Linked DNA regions of Homo sapiens: region 1 is linked to region 2. The links are contacts of gene promoters, found by promoter capture Hi-C in human tissues and cell types (Jung and others, 2019). All regions are on one chromosome and are shown on one strand. The core of a region is centred on a gene start or on the middle of the fragment in contact, and the rest is flanking DNA. Distances in the headings are between cores, read along the strand shown.

Evidence for each region. Contacts are between HindIII fragments. The study calls those that stand out against the background at their distance.
Region 1: a contact is called between a fragment that was not itself captured here and the fragment with the promoter of SLC15A5 in region 2, in 2 of the 25 tissues and cell types used here (H1 embryonic stem cells and small bowel).

What each region holds. Positions count from the first base shown.
Region 1 is chr12:16,341,888-16,347,308 of GRCh38, forward strand. It overlaps a transcript of MGST1 not described here. Among named protein-coding and RNA genes, the nearest start is that of MGST1, 3.0 kb to the right of the region's middle. RefSeq lists an enhancer at 4,848-5,421. The HindIII fragment of the contact is 4,250 bases long and covers 160-4,409 here.
Region 2 is chr12:16,274,707-16,280,187 of GRCh38, forward strand. SLC15A5 (solute carrier family 15 member 5) reads right to left here and starts at 2,979. Exons shown (of 9, transcript NM_001170798.1): 1 at 2,619-2,979. The coding sequence starts at 2,979. It overlaps LOC101928362 (a long non-coding RNA gene), which reads left to right. Exons shown (of 11, transcript XR_001749028.1): 10 at 1,030-1,145; 11 at 1,487-1,819. The HindIII fragment of the contact is 12,619 bases long and covers 645-5,481 here.

The DNA of each region.
Region 1 (5,421 bases), core at 1,035-3,534, 66 kb after region 2:
ATAGTCTCTAGTGATTCATTATATTTCCATAGTCTCAGTTGTTGTGTCTCCTTTTTGTTTCTTTCTTTTTTTTTTTTTTTTTTTCCAGACACAGGGTCTCACCTTGTCACCCAGGCTGGAGTGCAGTGGCACAATCATAGCTCACTGTAGCCAAAAACTCCTAGGCTCCTGTGATCTTCCACATAGCACCCTCCATGTAGCATCATCACACCTGGCTAATGTTATTATTATTATTATTATTATTTTTGTAGAGATGAGGTCTCCCTATGTTGCCCAGACTGATCTTGAACTCTTGGCCTCAAGTGATCCTCCCACTTCAGTCTTCCCAGTGGTGGGATTACAGGCATGCGCTACTTGTTTCTGATTTCATTTATTTGACTCTTCTCTCTGTTTTTCCTAGTCTAGCTAAAGGTTTGTTGATTATCTTTTCAAAAAACCAACTTTTTATTGTATTGATCTTCTGTGTTTTTTTTTAGTCTCAATTTCATGCAAATTTCAGCTCTGATCTTTATGATTTCTTTCCTTCTACTTATATTGAGGTTTGGTTTGTTTTCTTTTCTAGTTCCTTGAGGTGCATCATTAAGTTATTTAAAGTCTTTCTACTTTTTTGATATACATGTTTATTGCTATAAACCTTTTTTCTTCATTCTGCTTTTGTTGTATCCTATAGATTTTGTTATGTTGTATTTCCATTTTCTTTATTTTAAGAAATTGTTGTTTCCTTCTCAATTACTTCAATGACCCATTGGTCATCCAGGAACAAGTTGTTTAAGTTTCATGTGTTTGTGTATTTTCTGAGGTTCCTCTTGTTATTGATTTCTAGTTTTATTCCATTGTGATCAGAAAAGATACCAGGAATGATTTCTACTTGTTTGAATTTGTTGAGACTTGTTTTGTGGTCTAAGAAATGGTCTATTTTAGAGAACTCATGTGCTGATGAAAAGACTGTATTCTGCAGCAGTTGGGTGAAATGTTCTGTAAATGTCAGTTAGACCTACTTAGTCTAGAGTATAGTTTAACTTTGATGTTTCTTTGTCGATTTTCTGTCTGGAAGATCTGTCCATTAATGACAGTCAGGTGTTGAAATCCCTACTATTATTGCATTGCAGTCTATCTCTCCATTTATATCTATTAATGTTTGTTTTATATGCTTAGGAGTGCCAGTGTTGGGTGCATAGATATTTATAATTGTTTTATCTTGCTGAATTGACCCCTTTATCAATTTACAGTGACCTCTTTGTCTCTGTTTGTTTTTAGTTTGCAGTCTATTTTATCTGATATAAGTATAGTTACTGGGGAGTGATTAAGTCATGAAGGTGGAGCTGTCGTGAATGGGATTAATACCTTTATAAAAGAGGTTGAAGGGAGCTCCCCTGCCCCCTCCGTCATGTGAGGAAGCAGCAGGAAGGAGCAATCTTACAAGCAAAGAGCAGCCCTGGCACACACCAAATCTGCTGGTGCCTTGATCTTGGACTTCCCAGCCTGCTGAACTGGGAGAAATAAATTTTCTGTTGTTTATAAATTACCCAGTCTAAGGTATTTTGTTATAGCAGCCTGAGCAAACTAAGCCATGCTCCTTTCCAGCTAATCACTGCCCCCACCCCATTAGAAACAACCACTATTATCATTTTGATTATTATACATTAGTTTTGTTTATTTTTTAATTTAATGTAAATGAAATCATACTCTTTTGGGTCTGGTTTCTTTTGCTTGGTGTAATGTTGAAATTTAGTTAGATATTTTTGTGTGTATCAGTAGTTTCTTACTTTTTTATGTGATGTAGTTAGCATTTCCTTGTATGAATATACCGCAACTTGTCTTTGCACTCTTCTGCTGATGAACATTATGGTTTTTCCAGTTTTTGGTAAGTATGAATAAAGCTATTAAAATCATTCTTGAACAATCTTTTTGGTGGCCATATGCTTTCATTTCTCTTGGGTGAATACTGTATTTAGAAGCAGAATTGTTGGATTATAAAACAGTTCTATGTTTATTTCATAAGAAACTATGAGACAGTTTTACTATTTGATTCCATTTTATACCCTCACTGGCAATGTATGATGGTTTCATTTGCTCCACAGCTTTGCCAATGTTTGATTTTGTTTGTCTTTAATTCTTGCCTTTTCAATTTTTGGGAAGAAGCAAATCGTTGTGGTTTTGATTTGCCTATCTGTGAAGACTAATGACATTGAATACCTTTTCATGTGCTTCTTAGTCATTCATATATCTTCTTTTGTGAGTGTTGAAATATTTTGAATATTTTCAATTTTTAATTTTCTACTTTTGTCTCAATTATTGTCATAGGTGTTCTTTTGCATACAAGTTCTTTGTCAGATACATGGTATTGGGAATATTTTCTCTCAGTCTCTGGCTTTCCTATTTATTTTCTTAATAATGTCTTTTGATGAAGTTCAATTTATCAGTTTTTTTTTGTTTTATAGATAATTTTTTGTTTCCTGCCTAAAACGTCTTTACCGACCCCAAGGTCATGAAGATAATCGAGGTTTTCTTCCAGAGGCTTTATAGTATTAGCCTTGAGGTCTGTGATTCAGCTTGAATTTTTGTGTATGATGTCAGTTAAGGGTCAAAGTTCAATTTTTTTACCATGTGGCTATTCAGTGGTTCCAGCCCCTTTTGTTGAAAGCTTTCCTTTCTTCAGTGAATTGTCTTGGCACCTTGTTGAAAATCAATTGATCAATTAAATATAGTTCTATTTCTGGATTCTATTCTATTCTTTTGACCTATTTGTCTATCCTTATACCCTTACTATACTCTCTTGATTAGCTTCAAGAATTTTTATCATTTTTTAGTTCTGTTCCTTTCATCGTGGCTACTTTTGCCTCTTGACAATATTAGCTTAAGAGTTTATTTCAGAAGTTAGCACAGCTTTCAGGCTGCTGTGTATCTCAGAGTGTCTGTCTAAAAAATAGGAAAAATAAGAACTCCCTTATAGGGTTATTGGGAGAAATAAACAATCTAGTATACATGTTTAAAATGTATTATAACTCTAAAATAATCCTTAAGTGTTCAGAATATTGCTTATTTTTGTTTCACTTTTTGCTCTCTTGACCTTAAAACATATTCTTATGCAAGTTTACTGAAATCCCCCAGTAAGTTTCAGATTGTGGCAGGGCACCTGTTCTGTGGATTTAGGGAAAAACAAAGGCCCCAATATAATTGAGGGGAGTGACAGGCACCTGTTTTCTTCCTATTTACAGCAAGCCTTAACAGAAGGTGATGGCAATTCTTTCTGCCATTTTTACTTTGTCTGTTTTAAAAACAGACAAAGGTATTACTGGACTTCCAATGCTTTGCTCTTCCAGATATTTCTAATTTGATCCCCTGAACAGTCTGCTTTTTTTTTCTTTATTGTGGTAATTCCTTTTTCAGATGAATGACCTTTGCTCTCCTCACCCCAAATCAATGACCTTTTAAACTGTTTTAATATTTACTAGGGAATTACTTGTTCTGAGGCTTGGATTGAGTTTCTCTAAAAGATGGTATTCTAGAATTTAAATGGTGGTGAGAGGAAGGGTTGAAAAGCTGAATCCATTCTTTTACCCAGACGAAACTAAGCTGAATAACAACTCTCTCTCTTTCTCAATCATTTAAGAGCTTATAACAAAGATGAATATAAAGTGTCAATTATTTTACAACTTTTACCTGTTACCGCCCTAGTTCACACCCCAACTGTCATTCTTATTTCTAAATGGAAACTTTCCTTCCACAAGCTTAATGGCAACTTTTTACCTTTTTGGCCTTTGTGTTTACTAGATTGTAAAATCCTGGAGGACAGCTCTTTGACGTTATTTATCTTAGTTTTAGATTTTAGCATCAAACCAAGTACATTGCATTCATTTAATAAATGTTTATTCAATTAAACCAACTGCTAATATTCTACCCAATACAGTGTCATATATATATCCGTATGTATATATATAATATTGCCTGATACACACAAACACACACACACATATATATATGTATGTAACAGGCAATAATTGTTCGTGATTTAGTGATAGTAGGAACTCAGTATTTATTCATTGATCAATTAATAGTTTGAACACATTCTATATTTAGAGCATTAGATGAGTCAAGTGCTACTTTCTTTTTTAAAAAAATGTTAGAACCAGCTGGACGCAGTGGCTCACGCCTGTAATCCCAACACTTTGGGAGGCTGAGGCAGGTGGATCACGAGGTCAGGAGATCAAGACCATCCTGGCTAACACAGAGAAACCCCGTCTCTACTAAAAATACAAAAAATTAGCCAGGCGTGATGGCAGGTGCCTGTGATCCCAGCTACTTGGGATGCTGAGGCAGGATAACGGTGTGAACTCGGGAGGCGGAGCTTGCAGTGAGCTGAGATCGCGCCACTGCACTCCAGCCTGGGCTACACAGGCAGACTCCGTCTCAAAAAAAAAAAAAAAAAAATGTTAGAACCATTCAACTAGCATTCTGTAGACCAAATTATCTAAACAGTAGCTCTCCTCTTCCTTTTTCTGCCATGTTATCCATAAGATTTGGCCTGTATCACCTTATAATAAATGAAGAGAGTCTTAAATTCTTATAATACCAAACTCCTTTGGAGAGAATTCAGAATAGATTTATGTCATCTCAAATTCTATCCTATTCCAGTTAATGTTACAGACAGATTCTAGTATACTTTACAAAGATAGGTGAATAAGTAGAGTTTTGAAAAGATACAGACATAAAAGTGAAGAACAGATGCCTTCTGATGCTAGATTTTCCAAAACTCCTACTGTTATGCTTATATAGAAATCATTCTCAGACCTTCCTTGGATTAATTTCTGTTCCTAGAGCAAACTGGTAGTTATTTCTTTCTTTAATAGAACATGAACTTGTCCATCACATCCTAGAAAGTTAGTCCTAGGGATATCCTTTAAAGCCTAAAGGAGTAAATTAAGAGCAAAAAAAGGAAGTAGACCTTGCAACAGGTGGTGAGTGTCTGAGATATAGCACTAGGAGAGAAATAATATAGATTGAAAACAGAAATCCTTAAACATTTCTCATATAAACCCATGAAAGATAGATCCATAAATATTGTGGGGACTATGGGGACTAGGAAGCTTGGAAGTATCCCTAATCTAGATAGTGATGGTAGGCTAAATATCTACGGCTTCCGTAAACGTTCCTCTAAACCTCCCTGTAAAAAACACACTAAGCTGATTGTGTAATGAGCTGATCCAGTACAATTGCCTCCAATTTCATTCTGGACCCTGAACAGGAGGGGACATCGTGACAAAGCAAATTGTCTGGTATCATGAATTTGGAACACCGTAAGTGATCTTTACTGAGGGTTACATTCTGTCATTGTCAGCCTTTTAAGGAGGCCTTGCCACCAGCGCAGGGGAGGTGAAGTCTAAGGGAAGGTAATATTGTCAATGCCTGCTAATTAGTTCT
Region 2 (5,481 bases), core at 1,729-4,228:
CTGGCTAGACAAAGGGATGTCCAAAGAGGAGGGACAGGACAACTATTTCATGCAGGAACTATTAGGAACAAGGCACTTTTAGTTTGAATGATATATTTGTGTAACTTAGGCACTTTACTTCCATCTTTTGAGAAAATGTCATAATAGGCTGATTGTGTTAAATCAAAACTTTATCCCTATCTGTTGTAAAATGATGCAGTAAAGAGACAAAACAATGACATATATGAAGAAAAGTCTCCTCTGTGATGTGTGCAATTGTGTATCTCATCATCAGTATGCCTGCATTTAGTAGCTCTGTAGAAGCACCATGATGTGTCATACCCCCTGCCAGGTGATGGGGGTCCGCTGAAGGAAATGTTGAGTCCATCAGAGAAGTCAGCCATGCAGGTGGACAATTATATTATAAAGTGATGGATGCAATCGTATAAGTATTATATGGGTGTGGTTGAACACAGAGAAGCTAGCAACAAACACTATTTGGTTCTTGAAAGAATAGCAGGAGTTTTCCAATCATGGATAAGGGATGGAAAGATAAGGGAAGGTGACAATTTCAGAAAGAGAGAAGAGCATGTACAAGATTAGAAAACTAGGGAAGGAGGCCAGGAGAAGTTAGCAAGGTTGGGGTTGCGTGTTGAACAACAAGTCTAGAGAGGTGAACTTAGAATAGGTTGGTAAGGTTGTTGTATGCTAAATTAATAAGTTTGGATTTCATTTTTTAGATAATAGAAGCAATATAGAGATTTATTTGTTCAGGAAGTCAGTGTTGTTGGTAGAATGGAGTACAAGCTGGAGACTGACTGAGAACTGGCAGCCGAGTAAGTAGGCCATTGGAATGGTTAAAAAGAAGAAAGCTGCATTTTTTCAGCTAGGGTAGTAGCAATTCAGACAGAAGACCTTTCTTATATATAACCTCTGAAATTTAGTGACAGTTGGAATTTGATGGCAGCTGTAAGTGGAGGGCAACAAAGAAATAACTTTTAGTAAAAAAATGAATGGATGTAGAGTTGACTTAAGTCTTTTGTTTGCCAGATTCCAAAGTTGGGATTTCCATCCTGTCTGATGACTGACCTCAGAATTTAGACTGATAGAAATTACCATGTTAAACAAGAAGTCAACAAATGCTACTGGTGTGGCCTGTTACCAAGGTAAGCAGAGTAAGTTAGTCTGGGATTTGCTTAAATGTCTTCTTATCAGAAAACTTTTTCTCGGTACCAAGTAGCAGCCTCATCACCATCCATTCCATCCTGTCCCCCTACCCAGCTTTATTTTTCCATCCTAACTCATTGCCACATGACATCATATCTATTTCCTCTTTTATTTTCTCTCTCCCTGCACCAAAAAGTCAACTTTAGCAGGAACAGACGACTTTCTTCTCTATTGCATTTCCAGACCCAGAATAATGTCTGGTACAGAGTAGTCAATAAGAAATATTTGTTGAATGTTGAGTGATTATTTGCCATGCAGTGACCTAGTTTTTATTCCACAGAACTAAAGCTGTGAAGTTTCCAGGTTTGACTTAAACTCCAATGGATTCTCTGAATGGTAATTTACCACCTGCCTGAGATTGTGTGATATGTTGAGTACCTGATATCTATCCATCTCTTTCTCATCTGTCCCCCTACCAATACTCATTTCAGCTGCACTTCTCATTATTGGTGAACAGCATGCTATATTCCCAAGTTGCTCAGATCAGAAACTTGGAGCTAATTTTTGACCCCCATCACATTTGTACCTTTATTTAGTTGCCTTACAGCTTTTCACTTGTTCTCTCCTGAATTGGCACTTTATTGCTTAAACCATCATCCTGAGATTTTCTGATCTCTCTCTATTTAATTCCTCACTGTGGTTGTCCATCCTGTATTGCAGAATAGCATTTCTCAAATGTTGTTTTCATGATATTTTCAGAGACTTCTTGTTGCTTAAGAAGAATAACTTGAACTTTTCAGTTTAAAATTCTAGTCTGTTCTTCAAGTTGCTCTCTATTTCTTATTAAACTATCTTGATATTTTCCCAGCATTTCTCACAATCGGTCCCAAACTTTTGCAGATATATATTAGTATATATGTAAAGATGCACACTATAGTGTCTAATTTACTCATTTCTAAAGCATATAATCATAGTTAAAAATATAGAAATCATGCCATCATATGCAATCTTAATTACTATATGACTAATTAAAAGACCACCTTTGGATAAAAACATTTCTCAATTATTTTACATGAACTTCAAAAACCTTTTTTAGCACATTTCATCTTAGTTGTGAAGCAAATACATTTCACATTTCTGAGGGAATTTGTCATGAATTTAGGCTTGAGGTAAAAAGGTTTTGGGAAAGGAGGGCATTCTAAGGAGTAAGATAGATATGTAAAGGAGTAATTATTATAAAATATAAATGCAATGATATAGGCACAAAACATTCTCTAACACACACACACACACACACAGACTTACTAGCATTCTTCAAATAGTACAAAGAATGAAATACATTGAACCCACATTCTTACTTCATTTATCACATTTTATGCTAAGAGCAGAGTGAAAATAATATAAACTAAAAATTCTAACAAAAATCTACTTAATTAAGTCACAAAACAATCCAGTCAGCAGAGGACACTCACCTAGAAAATGTAGAAACAAGCAAATGTACACCAGTTTGTTTCTTCCTAAATAGACATCAGTGAGCCATCTGACAAACACAGGGGTAAGTATTGAAGTTCCAATAAAACACAAGTTTAAGATGGCTGCTTGGCAATTGTGATAGCCAAGCTTGATAGTGCAAAAGGGGATCATGTTGCAGACGACTTCAAAGAACGTGAACCTCTCACACAGCTCCACCAGAAGCAAGCAGATTCCAACCTGAATTTTTTTCACAGAGTGTGAGGAACACAAATCGCCAATATGTCTTACAGTTTTCTCCTTCTCAATGCTGTGATATAAGTGTACTTTCTCATCAGTTATGGTAAAGCCTGTAACAGACATGACTACCCTCCTTGAACAAAACTTATGTTAGTGGTTTGAACTTGGTGATATTTTGAGCCCCATCCCTCTGATGAAAAAAATAAGAACGTTGCTTTGAATTTCACATCTCCATGCTAGAATTTCATAAGGTTTGTTTTTTGCACATGGACGTTGTTCCTTTTGATGATCCAAGAGCATGAGTATTTAAATGTTCACAGTAGCTCAGTGTACCCAAATCTGATTTGTTTGCTTAATTACTTAGCGGCTAAATTAGGATCGTCCTCCAAAATTGTATTGAATTACATGAATCCAGTTGCAAACATGTGGAAACTCATCTGCCTCATACTGATAAAGGTTTAAATATTGAGGCAGAAGAAGCAGGTTTTCGGGAGAATTTGAGCACTAGATCAAGAAATAATTTGAGTCTAATAATTTCTGATACTTTAATTAAACAAGCCAGAACAGTACCAAGAGATAAAGCGCAAAAGGAAATCTGTTTTGAAGGGCACGATATCTTATCATTATTACATTTCTTGTTATTTTTGGTTGGAATTCTGATAAGAAACTTAATTAGGTAACAAAAGTGCTAGTACATTTAGGTAACAAGCAGAGTTTACAAGAAAGTAATTTAAGTGCACTAATGAAAGGAGAAAATATTAAACGAAACCCTGCTTCCTTTTAGTTGACCCCATGCTTGTAGAACAGCCTCTCAGAGGAAATCAGAATCAAAAGGTGCTATTTAACTCCTTTATTATTAATCAGTAGTCAGGGATACAGCAACCAGCCTACACAGGCTTTGGGGAATATTGGATCTGGTATCACCCTGACCCTTCAGCTGGGTGAATGGGTGTTAGCATTCTATTTTGGAAAGCAGGAGGGCCAATTAAGCTAAAAAAGCAGCAGTGAAAGAGAACACCTTAACATTTAGTGGCTTAGCTGCAAGGACATAGGAAGAAAAGGGACCGGAACTATTGGGTCAAAGTCATAATAATTCAACACTTGAGTATAGGAATGTTATTTTCATGCTGTAGTCAAAACCTAAAGACCAATAGGGACTTTTGACTCTGGTTATCATCTTTTGGTTGTGAGAGACTGGGGGCAAAATACTCTGTTTTGACCCCTTCTAATAGCCTCATTGTAATGGTAGCTATTTGTCTCTGCTCAGCATTGCTACTTTGGTAACGATGCCCTAAATTTCCTTTGTGTAAATTGATCATGCAATTTATGATCCAAACTTGGACAGTTTTGTGCAGGTGAAAAGTGATGCTATTTATGGTTACTCCCCAAAAAAAAAAAACAGTTATAAACTGGGACTGTCCAGGGCAACACTCTAACATGTGTTCACCCTACCTTTGGAGAATGACTCCTATCTATTACCTGAGATCATGGTGGGGCTGTTGATCAGCATATGCCTTTTCTTCTAACCAAGTGGGTCAACACCCGGTCTAAGATAGTCCTTTTACTTTTCTCCTGTGGAATTTTAATCTTGAGTGGAATGACTTAAGAATGGGCATGGTGGCAGCTGAGTTATTCAGATGGCAGTGTATTAGTCTGTTTTCATGCTGCTAATAAAGACATATCCGAGACTGGATAATTATAAAGGAAAGAGGTTTAATGGACCTACAGTTTCACCTGGCTGGGGTGGCCTCACAATCATGACGGAAGGCAAAAGGCATTATCTTACATGGCAGCAGGCAAGAGAGAAAAATCGTAGCCAAGCGAAAAGGGAAACCCCTTATAAAACCATCAGATCTAGTGAGACTTATTCACTACCATGAGAACAGTATGGGGGAAACTGCCTCCATGATGAAAATACCTCCCACTAGGTCCCTCCACAATACTTGGGAATTATGGGAGTTACAATTCAAGATGAGACTTGGGTGGGGACACAGTCAAATCATATCAGCAGTACCCAAAAGGGACTGCCCATGAGGCCCTGATGAACTCAGCACCTCCCTGATACTTTTTCTTCTGGAGCTACGATTACTTTTTCCTTCTGTAGAAGGCTCAAAGAATTCCCATTAATTTTGGTTTGATTTAGTTAGCCCCATTTGGCTTGTGTGGCTTACAAAGAACCCTAAATGATACTTTACTTTTTTGTTTACCCTAGATGCAAGGGCAAGCTGTTCTCTAGCCACTGGCTGATTTCTTTAGACCCTGACAAAGTGCTCCTTCCTAAGCAGAGTAGCACTGCTCTTTCCCAGGGCCTGATGATGATCCCATCTGGATTGTTTGGCTCCTCTCTGTATACTTGCTCAAGATCAGGCTCCATTTGCATTTGAGCCTGATCTTGAGCAAGTATACAGAGAGGAGCCAAACAATTCAGACTGGCCATCAGAGAAATGCAAATCAAAACCACAGTGAAATCTCACACCAGTTAGAATGGTGATCATTAAAAAGTCAGGAAACAACAGGTGCTGGAGAGGATGTGGAGAAATAGGAACACTTTTACACTGTTGGTGGGACTGTAAACTAGTTCAACCATTGTGGAAGTCTGTGTGGTGATTCCTCAAGGATCTAGAA